Regions from separate parts of the Homo sapiens genome. Here region 2 is linked to region 1. The links are contacts of gene promoters, found by promoter capture Hi-C in blood cells and fetal thymus (Javierre and others, 2016). All regions are on one chromosome and are shown on one strand. The core of a region is centred on a gene start or on the middle of the fragment in contact, and the rest is flanking DNA. Distances in the headings are between cores, read along the strand shown. Region 1 holds the start of TMEM168 (transmembrane protein 168). Region 2 overlaps SAMTOR (S-adenosylmethionine sensor upstream of mTORC1).

What was found. Contacts are between HindIII fragments. The CHiCAGO score rates a contact against its expected background, and 5 or more counts as called.
Region 2: a contact is called between a fragment that was not itself captured here and the fragment with the promoter of TMEM168 in region 1, in 2 of 17 cell types (naive CD4 T cells and monocytes). The highest score is 5.9, in naive CD4 T cells.

Annotation. Positions count from the first base shown.
Region 1 is chr7:112,787,387-112,793,007 of GRCh38, forward strand. It overlaps TMEM168 (transmembrane protein 168), which reads right to left and starts at 3,007. Exons shown (of 5, transcript NM_022484.6): 1 at 2,774-3,007. RefSeq lists an enhancer at 3,266-3,395. The HindIII fragment of the contact is 5,754 bases long and covers 1-4,128 here.
Region 2 is chr7:112,924,419-112,929,781 of GRCh38, forward strand. The region is part of intron 1 of SAMTOR (S-adenosylmethionine sensor upstream of mTORC1); the gene reads right to left. Among named protein-coding and RNA genes, the nearest start is that of SAMTOR, 13 kb to the right of the region's middle. The HindIII fragment of the contact is 1,793 bases long and covers 2,587-4,379 here.

The DNA of each region.
Region 1 (5,621 bases), core at 1,757-4,256:
AGGGGGAAGGGGGGACGGAGTCTCGCTCTGTTGTCCAGGCTGGAGTGCAATGGCAGGATCTTGGCTCACTGCAACCTCCGACTATCGGGTTCAGGCGATTCTCCTGCAACCTCTGACTATCGGGTTCAAGTGATTCTCCTGCCTCAGCCTCCAGAGTAGCTGGGATTACAGGCGCCCATCGCCATGCCCAGTTAATTTTTGTATTTTTAGTAGAGACGGGGTTTCACCATATTGGCCAGGCTGGTCTCAAACTCCTGACCTCAGGTGATCCACCCGCCTCGCCTCCCAAAGTTCTGGGATTACAGGCGTGAGCCACTGCGACTGGCATTTTTTTTTTTTTTTTTTTTTTTTTTTTTTTTTTTTGAGACAGAGTTTCATTCTTGTTGCCCAGGCTGGAATACAATGGAGCGATCTCGGCTCACCGCAACCTCTGCCTCCCGGATTCAAGCGATTCTCCTGCCTCAGCCTCCCAAGTAGCTGGAATTACAGGCATGTGCCACCATGCCCGGCTAATTTTGTATTTTTAGTAGAGATGGGGTTTCTCCATGTTGGTCAGGCTGGTCTTGAACTCCCGACCTCAGGTGATCCGTCCGCCTTGGCCTCCCAAAGTGCTGGGATTACAGGTGTGAGCCACTGCACCCGGCCATATCCTGCATATTCTTTAAACAAATTTACATTGTTGACTTCTCTCACCTTCCAAACCATTCCTTTTTGCAGGCATCCAAAGACTAACTCCCCAGATTTTTTTTCTTAATTTATTGGTTTCCCCTCCTCGGTCTCCTTGAAGGTTCTTCATTCTCAACCCATCCTTTGGATGTTCAACCCCAAACCTAGGCTTTTCTCTCACTATATACTTTCTCTAAGCAATGTCATTTATTTCTATGTCTTTGATTATTATCTCTCTACTTAAGTGCACACATATATTAATCTACCTATAGAAAATGAAGCACCAGCTCTGTTCTGCACTGTTAACAGAGGTAAATACCTGGAAACAAAGTAAATGTAAACATGTAAAAAAAAAATTAGTGAAGTACAGTGCATCCATATAATGCAATATATGCAGTTACCTTCCTATGGACCAAAATCAACATGGCAGATTGTTTTTAAATGGCTAATTTACAAAACTCTTCCCCATTCTGATCTTCTTCAAAAGACAGCCTGAGTTAGAGAATAACAGAAAAACATTACATTCCTTTTCAATCGGTTTGCCGTCACTAATGATTCAATGGACAATTATTCCAGAGGTAGATGAAAATGGACCATAGAGGAGTCAATATGCATATGGGAAAAGCTAACCAATCACTGCCAGAGTCTGATTATTTCATAAAACCTTACATACTATTCTAACCCTCCTCTCCACCATCATCTACATTTAATCCTCACCAAGTCCTGTCTACTATTCTTCCTAAACATTTTTTAAATGTTTCTACTTCTCGTCCCCAGGGTCACCATCCCAATTTTGGCCACCATCATGTTGAACATTTCCCTGTATCCACTCTTGCCCTCTCTAAGAAGTGTACTTTTTAAAACCAAAATTTAGCACTCCACTATGTAAAATGCTCCAATGGCGTCCCATCACCCTTAGCAATAAAGTCAAAACTCCTTACAGTGCCTTATAAGGCACTCCGTGTTGGGCCTGAATAACTCTCCTGCCTTATCTGTTACCAGTTTTCCTCTCACACTTTATTTTCCAACCTTACTGACCTTTCAATTACAAACTGCACAAATGCTATTCCCTTGCCAGGTACACTCCTTTTCCTCCTCCTGGCCCCACCCCAGTGCTCACACCTGGCTTATTCCAACTCTTCAGGTCTCAGATAAATCATTTTCTTAAGAGATTATCCCTGCCCCCTCCCCATTACATGACCCCCATACTTTCTCTGTTACATACCATCACTTATTTCATGTCTGCATTTCCCACTAGATCAAAAGGTCTCTGAGGGTTTGTCTTCAATACTGTACACCCAGTGACTAGCAAAAATCCGGCATCAAGAAGGTATTCAATAAATACTTGTTGAAAAATAAAGACTAATAAAGAAATAACTACATTTAACAACAATAGTCACCATTGGACACTTACTAATGCCTAAAGAGAATACAGAACTTAGCTATATCCCACAACTAATAACTAGTAGAACTAAGGGAGAGTCCATGAATGTTTGGTTTCTATTTCAGCTTTCCACCAGTCTTTACTTAATTCACCCAAATTCTTCCAAACCAATTCTCTCTCCATGTCCTACCTCTAGGGAATGGCTTGAGGCATACCGTATCACTTGCATTATCTTTCACTCAGAAACTCTGTCCCATCTAGAAGTGTCAAGGCTGAAAGAACTACACTGAAAAAACAGGGAATTTCAGTGCTTCAGTTCTGAATTACTGATAACTCTTTGAGCCATCTCATACGAGGAAAATGTCATCTAGAATATCAAACTCCTCAGCACTAGAGCAGCAACAGCAATTTCTCTCCCTTTCGGCCTCCTTCTAGCGAGATGTGGGAGGTCCGACAAGGAGCTTGGCTGTTCTCCACCATCCTCTGCCTCGGAGAACGCGACCACAACGTGGCGCCCAGTTGAGGGGGAACCCTTGCGAAATACGGAGAGGCGCTCCCACACCCTCCAATCTCCAACCACCACTGTCAACTCCTCCAGAGGCAGGTATCCTACCCCGGCCCTGGGAGGCCGACTGGGCGGAGCTTGGGGTCCGGACCACGCGGAGCCCTGGCAGTGTCTATGCCTAGATCTCGCCGCCCTGCCGTCCACCCATTTCTCCCTACCTGACTCGGCCGTCGCCACCAACGCGCTCTCCCAACCCTCGGAGTCAGTTCCAAAACCAAACCAAAAAGGAGGAGAGCAGACAAGGCTTCAGCCTGCGACTGAGAACAGGGAGGCGGCACGCCTTGGGGAACGAGGGCCCGAGGCCATACGCGCTAATACAGGCCAGTGTCGGCGTAAACTTTCTCCGTTACCGGCCCGGCCGCGACCGCCATGTTTCCGCCGCCGAAATCCGCGACGGTACGGAACGCCGCCGGGGTCAAACTGCGCGGCGCGCCTCCTTCCCGAGGCCCGGCCCCCTCCCCGCCCAAACCCGCGCGCCGCCACACACTCAGGTGAGCAAGGCGCTGCGCGAGTGTCAACTGCCCCACCTAAGGCGCCTGCCTTCCTCAAGCCAAAGTCGACTCCTGGGACCTGGAATCAGCAGCTGAGAACAGACAGCGGGAAGACCACCAAAGATCAGGCTGACAGTGCCCATCAAGCATCTAGGCCACCGCCTCGGGCTGGACCGAACGGGGACAGGGTGGACAGGACTGCCACGCGTGGGCTGTAAATACTGCGGGAGGCGTTGCTGCTCATTAATATATATGGCATAATATATGGCTTTGTAACCAGCTAAGGCCCAAGCTCCTTAGGCCCTCCCTCAGACCTTTCAGTTCCTCAAATGCAGGGACATGTCGGGTTTTGCTCAACATTAAATCACCTTAGCATAGTGCCTGACACATAGTTGGCACTTAAATATTTGTAAAATAATAATATGCAATAGGCTCTCCACGATCCGTAGTTCTCTCCTCCCACTTGTTTTGCATGTATTATCTATATATTTTTCCTATTTTCCATAATAGAGTGTGAATTTCCTAATTTTCATAATAGATGTTGGGGGTTGGTGTGGCCAGCACATCTATAGGAATGAACAACTCTCAGATTGAGATTCTGCATATGTGGATGAAAATTTTGAGTTAGATTCTCTCTAGACTCCTGATTTTAAAAGCAATCACAACTCAACTTCCCAAATCTGTAACTAGCTCTCTGGGGAACACGAGTGCCACATTTCCAACTACCTGCTAGATGTTTCTACTCAAATATATTGTCATCACTTCCAACTCAACTTGCCTTTAATGGACATTTATATACATTTATTATGCCCCCCATTTGAATCCCCTTCCGTATTTGGAGAATTCCCCACCTGAGTTAAGAGTCTAATGGCTGCCGCTGAAATGCTGAACACTTGTTTAACTAATCATGTGTACCCGCTGGAAGCCATGAGTCAAAAAAGGCACAGAAAGCTACACTCCCAGGTCACCTGTAGGAGTATAGCAAGTGTAGAGATCGAGAACCCATCCCTAACAGCAAGGTAAGCTTCCGAGGCAGTAGTGAGAGTGCTGGCATCCACCATTAACATGTCAGAGATGCAAGATGCCTGTGCTTGGTGAGGGTCACAACCCCAGAGCCCTTTCCCAATCTGTTCTGTAGCCTGTTAACAGTCTCTGTGTACATTTCTGGGTAGCCTGTGACAGACTCTGTACTACATAGCTGTGAGGCAGGACAATAGGGTCTGGAGGCAAGGAACTTACGGCTGATTCATGCTGACTTTCTAGAACTAAATCAAAAGGAAAGCCCCAACTTTCCACAGCTAAGTAACAAAGGGACCCGGCCCCCTCCCCCACCACCGCCCTTTTCTGCGTGGCAGACGGAAAATTGAAAGTACCTCGGATTGGTTGCTTTCCATAACTAATTAAATGTTTGCATAGGGTGTAACCTTTGTAACTTCGCTTCAGGCTCTGATTGGTTGCTTTCCGCTATCAGACTGATTGTGGGCCACTATATTTGCGTGGGGTGTACACCAAGTGGCCAATGGGAAACCTCTAGAGGGTGTTTATACCCCAGAAAATTCTATAACCCGGCCGCCCCGCTCTTGAGCCCCATGTTCCGGCTCTTCACACCCTGTGGAGTGTACTTTCATTTTCAATAAATCTCTGCTTTTGTTGCTTCATTCCTTCCTTGCTTTGTTTGTGCGTTTTGTCTAATTCCTTGTTCAAGATGCCAAGAACCTGGACACCTTCCACCGGTAACAGCCAAGGTAGATTCTGGCCATGTAGGTGCAAGCCTCAATCTCCAGCTATCCTTTGAACTACTTAGCGTCCTCTAGTAAACTTACTTTCTGCTTAAATTAGCTACAGCTGCATTCAGTTGCTTAGCACTAAGACCAGCTCACTAAATCAGTGGTTTTTCATCATCTTCCTCTAACATGGTCTTCTGCCTTATGACTTTAAAACCATTTTTGATGCTTGTTATCTTGTCCTTATACTTTAGAATACTTCAGTGAGATGTGTGTATGTTTGAAAGTTAATCTGCACAGCCCAGGGTGGGTAATTAGCATTTGAAAGACTAATCAAAAATGTTCACTGCAGAGTTGAATGCACAGATGCTTCCAGTATCACCATGTAAATCTGCACTAGATGTACCTTAGTTAGCATAAAGGATTAGAAAGAATTCTTCATTGTGGAAACAAGATGTTCAAAATACGTGGCTGGTTAGAATACTGTACAAGCACTTATGCATAACTGTGGCGTAGAAATCTGCTGTGTAGCAGACCGACAGCCTTCAGAATGGCTTAGTCTAGACTTCTGTTTAATATTTTGCCACAAAGTACTGTTTGTGTACTGTTTTTTGTGTCTGCTTGCTGATAAGATTTGTGTAGTAGCATTCAGTCTGAGACTTGTTTTAACTGTATGACACTACCTAGTACCGAGGGAGGAGAAAGATAGCCTTGTCAATCTTTAGTTATTGAAGGATACCAGTATTTACCAAAAAAAATTTGACACTTATGAATGACCAAGTGCTGTTCAT
Region 2 (5,363 bases), core at 2,233-4,732, 140 kb after region 1:
TCTAATAAGTACTGAGTTGAAAACCAAACTATTAGCCCTCTAATTTGATCAAGAAAGAAGAGTAAGGATACAAACAAACCCTCTCACACATTGTTAAGATGACTATATATCAGTCTGAGTCTTGGCCTGAATACTGATTTTAAACCTGAGAGAATTATTTTTGAGGGGGCTATGTACTCATATACAAATATTTCCATTAATCACTAACATTTGGGTAGTGACTGGCCTCTCAATTTGTTACATATCAGACTGGCAATAACTATTAACTTAAAAAAAGCAGGGAAAAGTTTTCTAGATTCTCAAATAAAAATTCCTCAGTTTTAGAAATGTTAAGGTATTCGAGTTCAATCATGTTAAATCATAATAAATTATGATTTATTTTAATATAATGGCCAATGTTCTTTTTTTTTTAGCAGTTTGACTTGAATTCCTATTAATGTTTTTTTCCAGCAGTTTCATTTGAAAATGACCTTCTGTGATAAAATAACTATTCATAAAACACAAGTCCAAGGAAAAAGAAAAAAGGGTGAAGTTTGAGGCAGATTCAATGTTCAAGTTGAAGGTATACACAAATGCTCCTGTGAGAATACCACATACCGAAGTTCATTTAAGACATACAGTTTGAGGGCCTGCCTGCTGTATTGGAATATTAATTTAAACACACTACTGCTTTCCTCAGTTTTAGCAACATCTTTCAGATGTAGTTATTTATCAAGTCTCTAAATAGAACTTCAGAAAGTGAGGCGTTTGAAACAATACTTTAATTAATGACACTTTCATAAACCCATGATGGTACATAACACTATTTCTGACTTTATCCATCAAATTTGAAACTAAATCATTCATTAAGGTATTGTATAATTTTAAAGGTGAATCATCAAGTCTAGAAGGCCTTTTTTTGAACTTTTAAGTTTCACTGCCCTATAGAATCTATACATTATAAGTAAATACATAAATGTATTATATGTGCTGTTAATAGGAGTCATTCAAACAAAAGTTCTATGATAACATATACCTGGGAAAAGCTATGCTTAAAACAAACATATTTTCTTTTCCTTTCTGCAAGACTTAGCGTCTAAAGAATGTACAACTTGGTTGGGTGTGGTAGCTCTTGCCTGTAATCCCAGCACTTTGGGAGGCCAAGGCCGGCAGATTACCTGAGGTCAGGAGTTTGAGACCATCCTGACAAACATGGTAAAACCCTGCGTCTACTACAAAATACAAAATTAGCCAGGTGTGGTGGCGCATGCCTGTAATCCCAACTATTCGGGAGGCTGAGGCAGGAGAATCGCTTGAACCTGGGAGGTGGAGGTTGCAGTGAGCTGAGATCATGCCATTGCACTCCAACCTGGGTGACAAGAGCCAAGCTCTGTCTCAAAAAAAAAAAAAAAAAAGTACAACTTAAGACAAAGACCTGGGTCCATGTAGTTTAATTGGGTGAGAATCCTAGGAAACAGGAGTAAGGAAGTAGAGAGAAAGATGGGAAGGAGAAAAAACTAATACAAGGTTGCTTTACTGAGGTTGCTGCTGTTGGCAAACTGAAAAGCATACCGAATGTGTCCAGAATTGTGCACCTAAAGAATGGGAGGCCACGGCATTTATCTCTAAGTTCTTATCCCCATTAACTGAGAATTATTAACAATCTGCACTGCTAGTCTGCACTTAGCCACTGAATAAGGGGACAATCTCAGTGGGCTCCAGCAGTGTGGGAGAAAGGCAGAACACAAAAAAGCAGCACTCATTTAAAGTGGGTCTATGTAAGGGCTAGTGAATCTGAGCTCAAAGTGTCTATCTACCATGGGTGAGGACAAAGGGTGTGCTATGTGAGGCAACACAGGCATCTGTTAGAAATTCTTAGAGTCCTTGCCATGTCACTATATACTTTGAAACTCAATTTACTCTATAATTATTCTACTAGCTATAAGATGCAAAGAACTGAAAATACACAGAAACCTACTACCCTACAACTTTTTAGAAGACCTCTAGTTTTTCATACTCAACAAAATTCTCTGAAATACCACCTAATGAAATTTTATGGCTATCTACCTCACTGAAGTCCTAAGGAAGAATTCAAACTTTGTAGGCTAATGCAACTCAGATTAACCAAACAACTTCAATTTAACGATTTCATTAACATTGAGGAGTCTGCAGACTCTCACAAAGTGTGTTGACACTGAAAATTGATGTGATTCATAAAGTGAAGTATACTTAAATATATAACTGACAGTAGAAGATGCACCTGTATATATTTTTCCTTCTTTCAACAGATTTTCTTTTAAAAATACTCCATATTAAATGCTACAGAAAATAAAGTTAATGAGCAGGCATTGGTATCAAAAAAAGGGGAGAAGACATGTAAAATGTGGAAATGCTATAAAAGAGATATGAACCTGACGGGTTCCCTATATCCTATGCAAGGCATCCTGGACCCAAAACTTTTATTTCATATATTTATAAAATAAAAATGTTTCAAACTCTGACTACTGTGTATACATTTTGTTAAAAGTCTGGTGGTTATAAAATTGAACAAAAAACATAGCTGGCCTTTAGTTATGAGAAAATTCCACTTCCCAAAATACCTCTGAAAGCTTAAGGTAATTTTAAAAATAAATGAAATTATTAAAAAGGAATGAGAAAAAGTATTTTCATAATAGCCCATTTTTTGTTTTTATAGTATTTAAAATAATGGTATTTAAATTTTGAGCAAAGTTTTTCAAAGTAATCTATGATTCAGGTTCTAAAATCCAAAAAAAGTTAGGGTTCACCAGTGCCCAGTATAATATTTAAAACTCCTCTACCAACTCAAACTGCATATACAAACAATATATTAAAACTCAATTTTAAGGATTTTTTTATCACTTAGTTATTAGGTCAACTAATAATTAAAAGATATACTATTTAAAAGGACAACATTTTTTCATTATTAAAAGGTAAATCAGGAGCTAGAACTTCTTGAAGTTTGCATGAAAGGTCTAGTCAACACAGTATAAGAAACATTTAGGTCTTCAAGTTCTATCAGAACTCTCAATGAATTAATAATTAGCCTTATGATTTATTTTAATATAATGGCATCTGTGAATGACTCAAAAGTGTTGTAATTAATAACCCATTTTCTTACCAATTTCTTATAGGCATTCTAGAAAAAATACATGTGTCTTAAAGTAAAAGTGAGACAGAGAGAAAGAGAGAGAGAAAGAGACAGGTACAAGGGGAAAGGGAGGCGTGGAGAACAAAATCTGCAATGGGTACACACGTTTTACTTTGACCAACTACAGAGAATTCACAAATTATTTTTAGAAAGCACAATTCAAAAATATATGCTCTACAGCTTAAATTGTCTTACAAAATTCTAGAACAAAGTTCACATTAACATGACTTCTATTTAGTTATCCCATAACATTTAAATTTTTCAAACACCCATTTTAAAAAACAAATTCGTAATTTTAAACATGAGTGATGCCAACTTAAAGTTGCCAAACCAAGTTCAATATGATAATCAATGAACCAAATTATTTTGAATCTTATATCAAGATAATACCATAACTATTGCATTGACTAAACTCACCTTCAAAAACACTATGTCACAACTAAAAAATAAATTAGGAGCTACTAATAAAAGGACAATGACAACTAGGAAAGAATAGCACATTCATTAATTTAAAAAGAGTTCCATTTTTAATAACTTTGTGATTAAGACATTATTACAATGCAACTGCCTTTGTAAAAAAACAAGTACAAGGAAATGGGTTTAAAAGTATTTTTGCTCTACATAACATCCAGAAGCGCAGCTCTAAAACAGTTCCAAATTAAAGTGAACCAATGGAATCCCTAAATTATTTATTTAGAGTTGATATTATTCTTTCTTTATGAATTAACCTCTCTCCTGCCATCTGGTACAGCATTTTTTTTCCTTCAAAATGTAACTGAATTCATATTTTCTTCAAGAGGGTTTATCTGCCTCCCACTTTATCATCTTACACTTCCCTCATCTGCCATCCTTACGGTACTTTGTCATTCATTTATACATACTGTCTATTAAAACCAGGTGTGATTTTCCCAATAGAAAGTATAAATGGAAAAGCAAAGACTACTTTTGATTTACAATTTGTATAAATTAGAGAAGTTAATTAGGGTGCTCAGTCAGTGGAGGACAAAATATTTAAATTTTCATCATGCTCAAAAAATAAACATGAAAAGTATAAACAAATTAAATTAGTTGCTAAGATAAAATTCAAACTACAGAGGATGGCTTTCAATAAATAGCAGTCACTCAAAAGCAGAATTTAAATTTTTCACAATAGTTACTGTTTTCAAAGTAAGAGTTCCAAGGTCAGAAAAGCAATAATTTCAATGTCATTTTTCTAGAGACCATTGTTTTAAGCTTATTAAAAAGGCTTTTTCATTTTGTGTTATTGTCAAAAGAAAACCTTGCAGCTGACAGTCCAGTCATATCCATTAAGTTCTTTAATAGCAGTACACAGATCTTTTCGAAAAATTTATTAGCTCAAGGAGAAATGAACAGTAACACCACCAAATAGATAAAGAATTACTTATATGTGAAAAAAATGAATAGGTGGTGCTAAGGTTCATGCATTTTTACATGCCAGGACCACTTGATTTTTATATACTTGATGTGTATAAAAATAATATTTTTTCTCAATAACTCTATCCTAATTCTCCTTTTTAAAACATACAAAGCACAGAAAATAAGTTAGCAAGTATATATGTGATGCCATTTTAAGATAAAAATATATTTACAAACCATATACCTGATAAGGGGTTAATATCCAAAAGATATATAAAAAAAACCTCAAACTGAATAGCAAAAAAACAAATAATCTGACTAAAAAATGGGCAATGACCTGAATAGATATTTTTCCAAAGACAACACAAAAAATGGCCAATGGGTATATAGAAGGGTGCTCAACAAAACTAATCATCAGGAAAATGCAAATTAAAACCACAATAAGATACTACCTCCCATCTGTTAGGATGGCTATTATCAAAAAGACCAGAGATAACAAGCATTGGTGAGGATGTGAAGAAAAGTGAATCCTGTATACTTATGTTGGGTATGTAAATTAGTACAGCCAAAACAGTATGGAGGTTCCTAAAAAAATTAAAAATAAAACTACTACATGATTCAGCAATCCCACTATGGGTATTTATCCAAAGGAAATGAAATCAGTATGTCAAAGAGATATCTGCAATCCTATAATCATTGCAGCATTACTCACAATAGCTAAGAAACGAAAATAAATGGAGGTGAATCTATAGTGAAAAGACATGTGAGACTGAGAGTATAGAGAGAGACCGACTGCAAAGAAGTATGAGAAAATTTTGGCAGTGATGAAAATGTTCTA